Regions from separate parts of the Homo sapiens genome. Here region 1 is linked to region 2. Evidence: promoter capture Hi-C in 16 types of primary human blood cells and fetal thymus (Javierre and others, 2016). All regions are on one chromosome and are shown on one strand. The core of a region is centred on a gene start or on the middle of the fragment in contact, and the rest is flanking DNA. Distances in the headings are between cores, read along the strand shown. Region 1 overlaps TFG (trafficking from ER to golgi regulator). Region 2 holds the start of RIOX2 (ribosomal oxygenase 2).

Region 1 (4,097 bases), core at 616-3,115, 2.7 Mb before region 2:
TACTGTCTTTTAGCCTCTATTATTACTATGAAGAAGTCTACTAACAGTCTAATTGTTTCATATGTGATCAGTCTTATTCTCTCTGGCTACTTTTAAGGTAATCTCTCTGTCTTAAGACATTTTCCAGTTTCATGACAATATGTCCAGTGGGGATTTACTTTTACTTATCCCTGCTCAAGGCTCCCCGTGCCTTCTGAATCTGAGGGTCTATAGCTTTTATATAACTCTGAAAATTTCTTTAGTCATTACCTCAATGTATTTCCACTCTCCCATTCTCTCCTTCTTGAAACTCTGAATAGAAATATTCTGGATGTTCTCATTTTCAACTTCTCTTTTGCCTGTGTTTTTGTGCTTTACTCTGTAATTTCTTTGGATTTCCTTTTCAGTTCACTAATTCTCTTTTTAGCTATGACTAATGTGTTTAACCTATCCACTTAGTATTTAATTTCAATGATTATATTTCTCATTTCCAAGTTACTTTAAGTTCTTTATAAAATCTGTTTATTGTTTTTCCATAATACAATAGCATCTTGCTCTTATGTTCTCGTTTTGTTTTGTTTTTTCTGAGATGGAGTCTCACTCTGTCACCCAGGCTGGAGTGCAGTGGCGCGATCTCGACTCACTGCAACCTCCACCTCCCAGGTTCAAGCAATTCTCCTGCCTCAGCCTCTCAAGTAGCTGGGACTACAGGCACACACCACTACAGCTGGCTAATTTTTTGCATTTCAGTAGAGATAGGGTTTTACCGTGTTGCTCAGGCTGGTCGCGAACTCCTGCACTCAGGCAATCCGCCCGCCTTGGCCTCCCAAAGTGCTGGAATTACAGGCGTGAGCCACCACGGCCGGCTGCTTTTATATTCTTATTCCTTCTTCTATGTCTTAAATAACTTTTAATTTTGTAGACTATCACATATCTTAACTGAAGTTGTTGAAAATCTAATCCTGCTATTAGTTGTGTCCAGTGGTTCTTGCTTACCTGACAGCTTCATGTGTCTTACGGTTTTGTCTGTGAGAAACCTATGTGACCTGGATTGAGAATATACCCCTCAAGAGAGATTTTGGCCTTTCTTCTGAGATTTTTCTAAAATGGTAACATCTGGGCTTGGGAGTTACCAAACTACATGGATAGTTTAAATTTAAACCCAACTCACCTAAGGACCACAATTATGAATCCTGAAGGGAGACTTCCCAAGCCCCTGACGGCCCAAGGTATAAGAGTTAAGCTTCCTTGACTTTCCCTGTATCAAGGTAGACTTTTCTAAAATATTCTTTTTGAAAGCATGGCCTACTGAGGGACTAGGACCAAGGGCCTACACCATGTAGACACCAGATGGCAATTCCTTAAATTATGCAGGCTAAAATCTCTACTATCACCACCAAGAACACCCCAAGTTTCAGCTTTTGGTACATCAGGCCTTTAGTTCCCTCTACTTTTTTGTTCCCTGGATATTTCCCTTACTTTCCTGTGCAAGCTGAGTTACAGAATTCAGAAAACACATTTGTAAGTTTATCTAGCAGATCCTGTTTAAAGTAAGGGTCTTCAGATTATCTAATCTGCTTTATGCCTAGTCAATAGTTAAGTATTTTACATTCAATACTGTAAAAAGATACCTTTATTTTAAATAATTTTAAACAGTTTTTGTTATTAACATTTAAATTCTGATTATTCATATTCATCCTTCCTAGATGGAGATGAAATAGATACAAATTAAATCAATAGACCATGATCATATTTCACACTGAACTCTAAGTTTCATGCAACAAAATTAAAAAAAAATAAAATTAATGCTAAACAAAACAACAAAACAGCCGGAAAAAGTGTACACATTTTATTTTTCACATAATCACACTACCATTTAACTCTGTAATCTTTTCTATCTTGTCCCTTAAGAGTTCTGCCTTGCATATCTATTAAGATCTAAAAGAAAAAATCTAAAAGATTAAAATTAGTCTTCTATTGGTTTTTATCAGAACTATTTTTAATCTTTAAGTACCCCTCGGGAAATACTGTCTAAAGCAAGGGTCCCCAACCCAGTGCTACTCTGTGGCCTGTTAGGAACCAAACCGGGCTGGGCAGCACAGCAGGAGGTTAAGTGGTGGGCTCCGCCTCCTGTCAGTTCAGCAGTGGCATTAGATTCACATAGGAGTGTGAACCCTATTGTGAATTGCACATGCAAAGTGGAAGAGTTTCATCCCCAAACCTTCTCCTGCCCCCTTCCATAGAAGAACTGTCTTACACGAAACCAGTTTCCAGTGCAAAAAGGTTGGCGACTACTGGTTTCAAGTATCAGACTTACATGTTAAGCCCTGATAATAAGTAACAACATACTGTAATGTGAAGGAAGATAATTACAATTTAAAAATTCTAATACAGCTAAATTAAAACTATAATACTGCACCAGGGATACCTAAGTTATACCTGATTTCAAAAAAAACATACTTAACACTCTGTTCTTACTGAATTAAACTTCTATCATTTTCTTAAAAACATACACAGCCATAAGCTTCAAGTAATCTAAAACAACTACCTGAACACAAATAAATGTAATAATATTTGAATAAGTTATTGCTTACCTGAGTCTTTAAAAGGAAAAAAGCCAAACATCTTTAAAATACAATGAATAAAATAGTAAATTCATTAGAAAGTTTACTACTCACCAAATAATGTCAGTTTCAGTATCCTACTGCACTGAATTGCAAAGGAAAGGTCAGAACTATCAAAAATTGTTATAAGATCTCCATCTGGAATTTAAAAAAAAAAAAGGTTGTTTTTTAATTTTTTAAATTTTCAGATTTGTATAAGCAGTAAACTAGTAAAAATTAAAAATCCAAAATGTAGATTGTAGAACATAGTTGGACTCTCCCATAGAAACCTTAAACTTTAAAGGTCTAGCAAAAATGCATTTGTTCAAAAATATACTAAATCAATTTTGCTTATTACTCTTATGGCAAGGTATTTACACATATCCACATGAAAAAATACAGCTAAAGTGAATCCATTAAGTGCCTTAATATTTATTAGTCACTAGTAAGAGATTCATAGAGAGCAATATCATAAATTGTTGGTTTAGACTGAAATCTTTTCATTCCAAAAAATTTACATCTTTTACCAAGAAATAAAAAAGTTTCCCAAAGTTCAAATCTTAATCATAGGTAGAGTAAAACACTACTGTTGCAAAACTGCTTTAATGAATGGATAGACAGTAAATTCTTTCAGGTCACTGACCATTTTGATATTAAGATGAAAACAATCAACTCTCCCCAGAAAAATATTTATATATTCAAAACAGTGTGTATTTATGACCGTGAAATCCCCCAGATCTCAGGGATAAAGAATGCTATAATTGGCATACCAACTGTGTGTCTCAAAAGCTTTCAAAGGGCTAAGGGAAAAATACATTCTCTAAAGAAAGCAAGAACAGAAAAGCAGCCAGAGACAAGGAGTTCATCAGGGACCTCTGCAGGGTGTCTTCACAAACAGTTGGGTGGGGAGGAGTTCTGTCCTGGGGAGGCCACAAGACTACTTCTGGGATGCTCTGCTGCACCTACTTTAACACTAATTAGTTGGATTTATTTTGGGCAAAGATGACAAAACTGAGAATTTTATAACTGTTTTTAGCTCCTTATAGCCAGACCCACTTCCCATAACATACTTGTTTAATGTTCAATTTTCATAAACACATTTTTTAAAGAAAATAAAGTATGTATGTAAAAGAAGAAAACTTCCTGTTCTTTTTTTCTTTTCTGAATCCTACAACAGAAACAGAGTATCTCTGATGGCAGGAACTTTACCTAAGCCATCCCTCCACTCTACTAACAGAATCTAACGGACACAAATCAAAACAATCAAAAACTTTTTGGCCAAGTGCGGTGGCTCACACCTGTAATCCCAGCAGTTTGGGAGGCTGAGGTGGGCGGATCACCTGAGGTCAGGAGTTCGAGACCAGCCTGGCCAACATGGAGAAACTCCGTCTCTACTAAAAATACAAAAATCAGCCGAGTGTGGTGGTGTGTGCCTATAATTCCAGCTACTTGGGAGGCCGAGGCAGGAGAATCACTTGAACCTGGGATGTGGAGGCTGCAGTGAGCCAAGATCAC
Region 2 (3,987 bases), core at 1,198-3,697:
GAGAGCTGCCATCTACAACATTGTTTTCATGAGAAAATTAATTACAGAAACAAAATAACTGACTTTTAAATGAACCTATGGTGGGGACTGGATAGCAGTCTGCATCTTGTCCTCTGGAAGAACTTTTCCAAAAAAAAAAAAAATACCAGAAACAATACATGTAGGAAGGCCATATATTCTAGAAGCCTCCCAGGCAAGGTTGCAGACCATTCTCCACTCCCATCCCATGCCACCCTTACTTCCTCACCTCCTCTTCCTCCTCTCAGGCAAGGTTGCAAGCCATTCTCCACTCCCATACCATCCCACCACACCCTTACTTCCTCCCCTACCTCCTTCCCTCCCTCCCCCTTCCTCCCTCCCTCCCCGCCCCTTCCTTCTTTCCTTCCTTTAGACGGAATTTCGCTCTTGTCACCCAAGCACAAACTAACTTTCCTTCTCTTTTTCTTTTTCTTTTCCGAAACAGAGTTTTGCTCTTGTTGCCCAAGCTGGAGTGCAGTGGTGCAATCTCAGCTCACTGCAACCCCGCCTCCCTGGTTCAACCAATTCTCCTGCCTCAGCCTCCTGAGTAGCTGGGATTACAGGCAGGCACCACCATGCTTGAGTAATTTTTTTGTATTTTTGTTAGAGACGGGGGTTTCACCATGTTGGCCAGGGTGGTCTTGAACTCCTGACCTCGGGTGATCCACCGGCGTCAGCCTCCCAAAGTCCTGGGATTATAGGCGTGAGCTACCGCACCTGGCCCCTTCTCCTTTTCTTCACAGGAATGATGGGCACTGTTTAGGTCTGAAAATGGAACTATCATGACTTTTTTGCTTGCTATGCTAAGAAATCGGAATTATAATGAAAAAAATCAGAGAGAACATACTGATATACTAATTTTGCATTAGAGGAACTCCTACACAAGATGTATGATTTCCCCCTGCAAAGCTGACTTCCATATGTACTTTTGTTCTGTTAGACATCCTGCGGCCATTTTATATGCTGAGAAAATGGTATTTTGTGTTGACATTATAACTTTTTTCTACAACCGTACTGCTTTTCCAAGTGGTGGACGTGTGAGAATTTACCTTTATCTGAATCCCGGGAACAGCAATATTATTCTATATTATCTTGAGTAGATGTCTTGCAGTCAAAATAAAGAGCGAAGTACATTACCAATATCATATCAACTAGAGATTTTTGCTGTTGACTATTCTTTTTTACCCTGTAAGGGCTAAATTTGATGTTACCCTCGAGTTTTTCCAACTGGAACCTGCCAGGAAACTTACTAGTTATACGAGTATTAGTAAAACGTGAAAAAGACCAACAGTTGACTGACTGGTTTGGCTCTAATCTTGTTTCTGCATCTTCCTAGCTGTGTGATCTTGTGCAAGTTAGTTAACCTCTCCTGACTCAGTTTCCTCAACTGTAAAATGGAGGTAATTGCAAGGTTGTAGTGAGGATGAAGTGAGGAGTATTTGAAACACCTAGCGTGGTGCCTTATAGCCAGGAAGAACTCAATTCAAGACTTGCTATTATTGTTAGTTTTAGACAAATACTAGACAAGGGTGTACTTTGTTCCCATTTGTTCATGTGCCACTTGATCCTTAGAAGCAGCCACTGGTCTCAGTCACCTTGACGGAACGAAATGTCGACTTCCTCTGGGTCCTCTGGCTGTCTACAGAGCAAAGAAAGGCACAGGCCCGCCACTGATTTCCCTGCTCCCTCATTTGTGCCTCCTGACTGGAACCAAATGTTCCAAAGCAGGGAGTGTTAGGCTGAAAGGACTCAGATAACTGCATTTCTTCTGTTTCTATAGCCATAGTCGCAACGAATTTCCAGTATCTTTTAAAACTAGGATTGACTCTCTCTCCCGGAGCGAGATGATATAAATGACACTCGGCTTGTACAAATCAGCATTGTGTAGCCACACAGCCCATAAGAAAGCCATGGGAGAACCCGGACCACCAACTCCCTAAACTTGCACCGCTGGTATTCCTCTTCAGGCCTGCTTCTCTATTCATAAAAGGAACGGAGTTGCACCAAAACGCTCTCTCAAATCCTCTCCTGCCGCCCCAAGTTAAAAGAAAAAAAAGGAGAGCCGGGTGGGTGGCTCACACCTATAATCCAGCACTTTGGGAGGCCGAGGCAGGAGGATCGCTTGAGCCCGGGAGGTAAAGGTTGCAGTGAGCCAAGATCGCTACCACTGCACTCCAGCCTGGGCGAGAGTGAGACCTTGTCTCACATACCATAAAAAAAAAAAAAAAAAAAAAAAAAAAAAAAAAAAGAGGAAAAAAAAGGCCATTTATTTCCTTCCATATGGACTAAAGAAACGCCCGGGCGTGAACGCGGAACACCGCCGGGTAGCCAGGCCTCCGGGCTGCCACCACTTGCGGGCCGGCGTGGCGGGGCGGGGCGGGGGCTGGAGCACGGCCCGGAGCGTGCCCACGCTGCCCCGCCTCCAGCCGCTGCGCCGCAACGCAGTGGGCTCGCGGCCGCGAGCAACAGGCCGTGCCGGGTGAGTGGGGCGCTCTCGTGGGCATCCCAGCGCCGGGGCAGGCCGGGTAGTGCCCGATCCCGCGGGGCGCGCGCTGCTGCTTTAGGCACCCGGGCTCGGGTGCGGGTCTGGGAGACCTGTCGGTCGGCGAGAAGCCTCGGTGGCCGGCGCTGTGGTTGCGGGACCTGGGACGCGCTCCCAGGCGTCCCACCTCCCCGGAGACTGGGGCAGGGTGGGTGGGGCCCGGATCTAGGGGTAGGGTCGCGGAAGCCTTGGTTACAGAGAGTCGCACACGTGGCCTGCTAATGGTCGCGACACCGGTGACGAGCGCACGGAAAGTTTGGAGGCTTAGCAAGGAGGGTGGTGCCGGCCTCCGCCCGGTGGTGGCAGAACTGCCTGTGCGAGCACGGCTTCCACGTGGGCTGCGCCGCCGGGCGTCATGTCGGGCCTAAGAGACACGCTCTACAGCTGTGAAATCTGAAGTTCAGGTGTGTGGGGAGAAGGGCAGCTGCATTACATCATATGCTTCCAATTCATTTACCAGCAAATAATTCCGCAACGATTGGCCGACAGCTGGGTTGTCCAACAGGTTACTGAGACCAGGTTATTCACTGTTTTCAGGAAGGATAGACTGGGAGGAAGAGGATCTGATTTCGCCACTCATTAGCTGTAAATCTGGTGCCTCGGGTTTCATGTCACTGGGCTCATCTTTGAGCAGAGGAACCTGATTTACTCAGCTTCTTCTGCTGGTACTGGTTTTTGCCTCCTGGACATCAAGCTTTGTAACCTCATGGTCACGAAAATACATTGAGGTATAGTCCGTTTCCTCTCTAAAATCAGACTAAAAAGATAACTGCTGATCACTCCTTTAGGTCAATAGGAGAACCAGTTTTCCCTCTGGATTGATTAACATATCTCTGAGCCAAAAAGAAATGTTTTAGATCAGTCTGGGCAACCTTGTTACAAGCAATATATAATTTCTGACAGCCGTGTGTTTAACTGAGCTGCGTTTGACTGTTGTCCTCCATTAGTGGACCTAAAATTCATCTAGAGAGCGTATTACGTTAATGCAGATTATGGGCCTCAGCCATCAGAAGTGGCAATCCAGTGGGCTTGATGAGGGCCCAGAAATTTGCATGCTAACAACCTTGCTGGTAACTCTGAACTACATTCTGTAAAACTGCCCAGGGGATGTAGAAATTCATACTTCCCTCCCCGATTTAGTAATAACTACTGATGTCTAAAGTGCCTTTTAGCTTTTACGATACTCTTGAATCCTGAAGTGACAGCTGCAATCAGAAAAATAATCCCCTCTGCACAGGCCATCTGTTTTTTCCGTAACTGTTTTGTGTAAGGCCTTTGTGGTTTGTCTCCAAAATTGTATACAGACAAAAGATGAAAATGTGAAAAATTCAGCAGACATTTCTTGAGGACCTCCTATGTACCACACCGTGCTTGTTTCCGGGGATATACAAATCCTTTCCTTCAAGAGCTTCCTCACGTCTTCATGT

The links. The method cuts DNA at HindIII sites, captures the fragments that hold promoters and counts their contacts. A CHiCAGO score of 5 or more calls a contact.
Region 1: a contact is called between a fragment that was not itself captured here and the fragment with the promoter of RIOX2 in region 2, in 1 of 17 cell types (activated CD4 T cells). The highest score is 6.7, in activated CD4 T cells.

The regions. Positions count from the first base shown.
Region 1 is chr3:100,718,619-100,722,715 of GRCh38, reverse strand. TFG (trafficking from ER to golgi regulator) reads right to left here. Exons shown (of 8, transcript NM_006070.6): 3 at 2,658-2,741. Among named protein-coding and RNA genes, the nearest start is that of TFG, 11 kb to the right of the region's middle. The HindIII fragment of the contact is 1,281 bases long and covers 1,225-2,505 here.
Region 2 is chr3:97,970,891-97,974,877 of GRCh38, reverse strand. RIOX2 (ribosomal oxygenase 2) reads left to right here and starts at 2,447. Exons shown (of 10, transcript NM_153182.4): 1 at 2,447-2,497. It overlaps LOC124909398 (a long non-coding RNA gene), which reads right to left and starts at 2,225. Exons shown (of 2, transcript XR_007095976.1): 1 at 1,068-2,225; 2 at 1-12. RefSeq lists a silencer at 2,263-2,702 and an enhancer at 2,973-3,232. The HindIII fragment of the contact is 3,966 bases long and covers 1-3,256 here.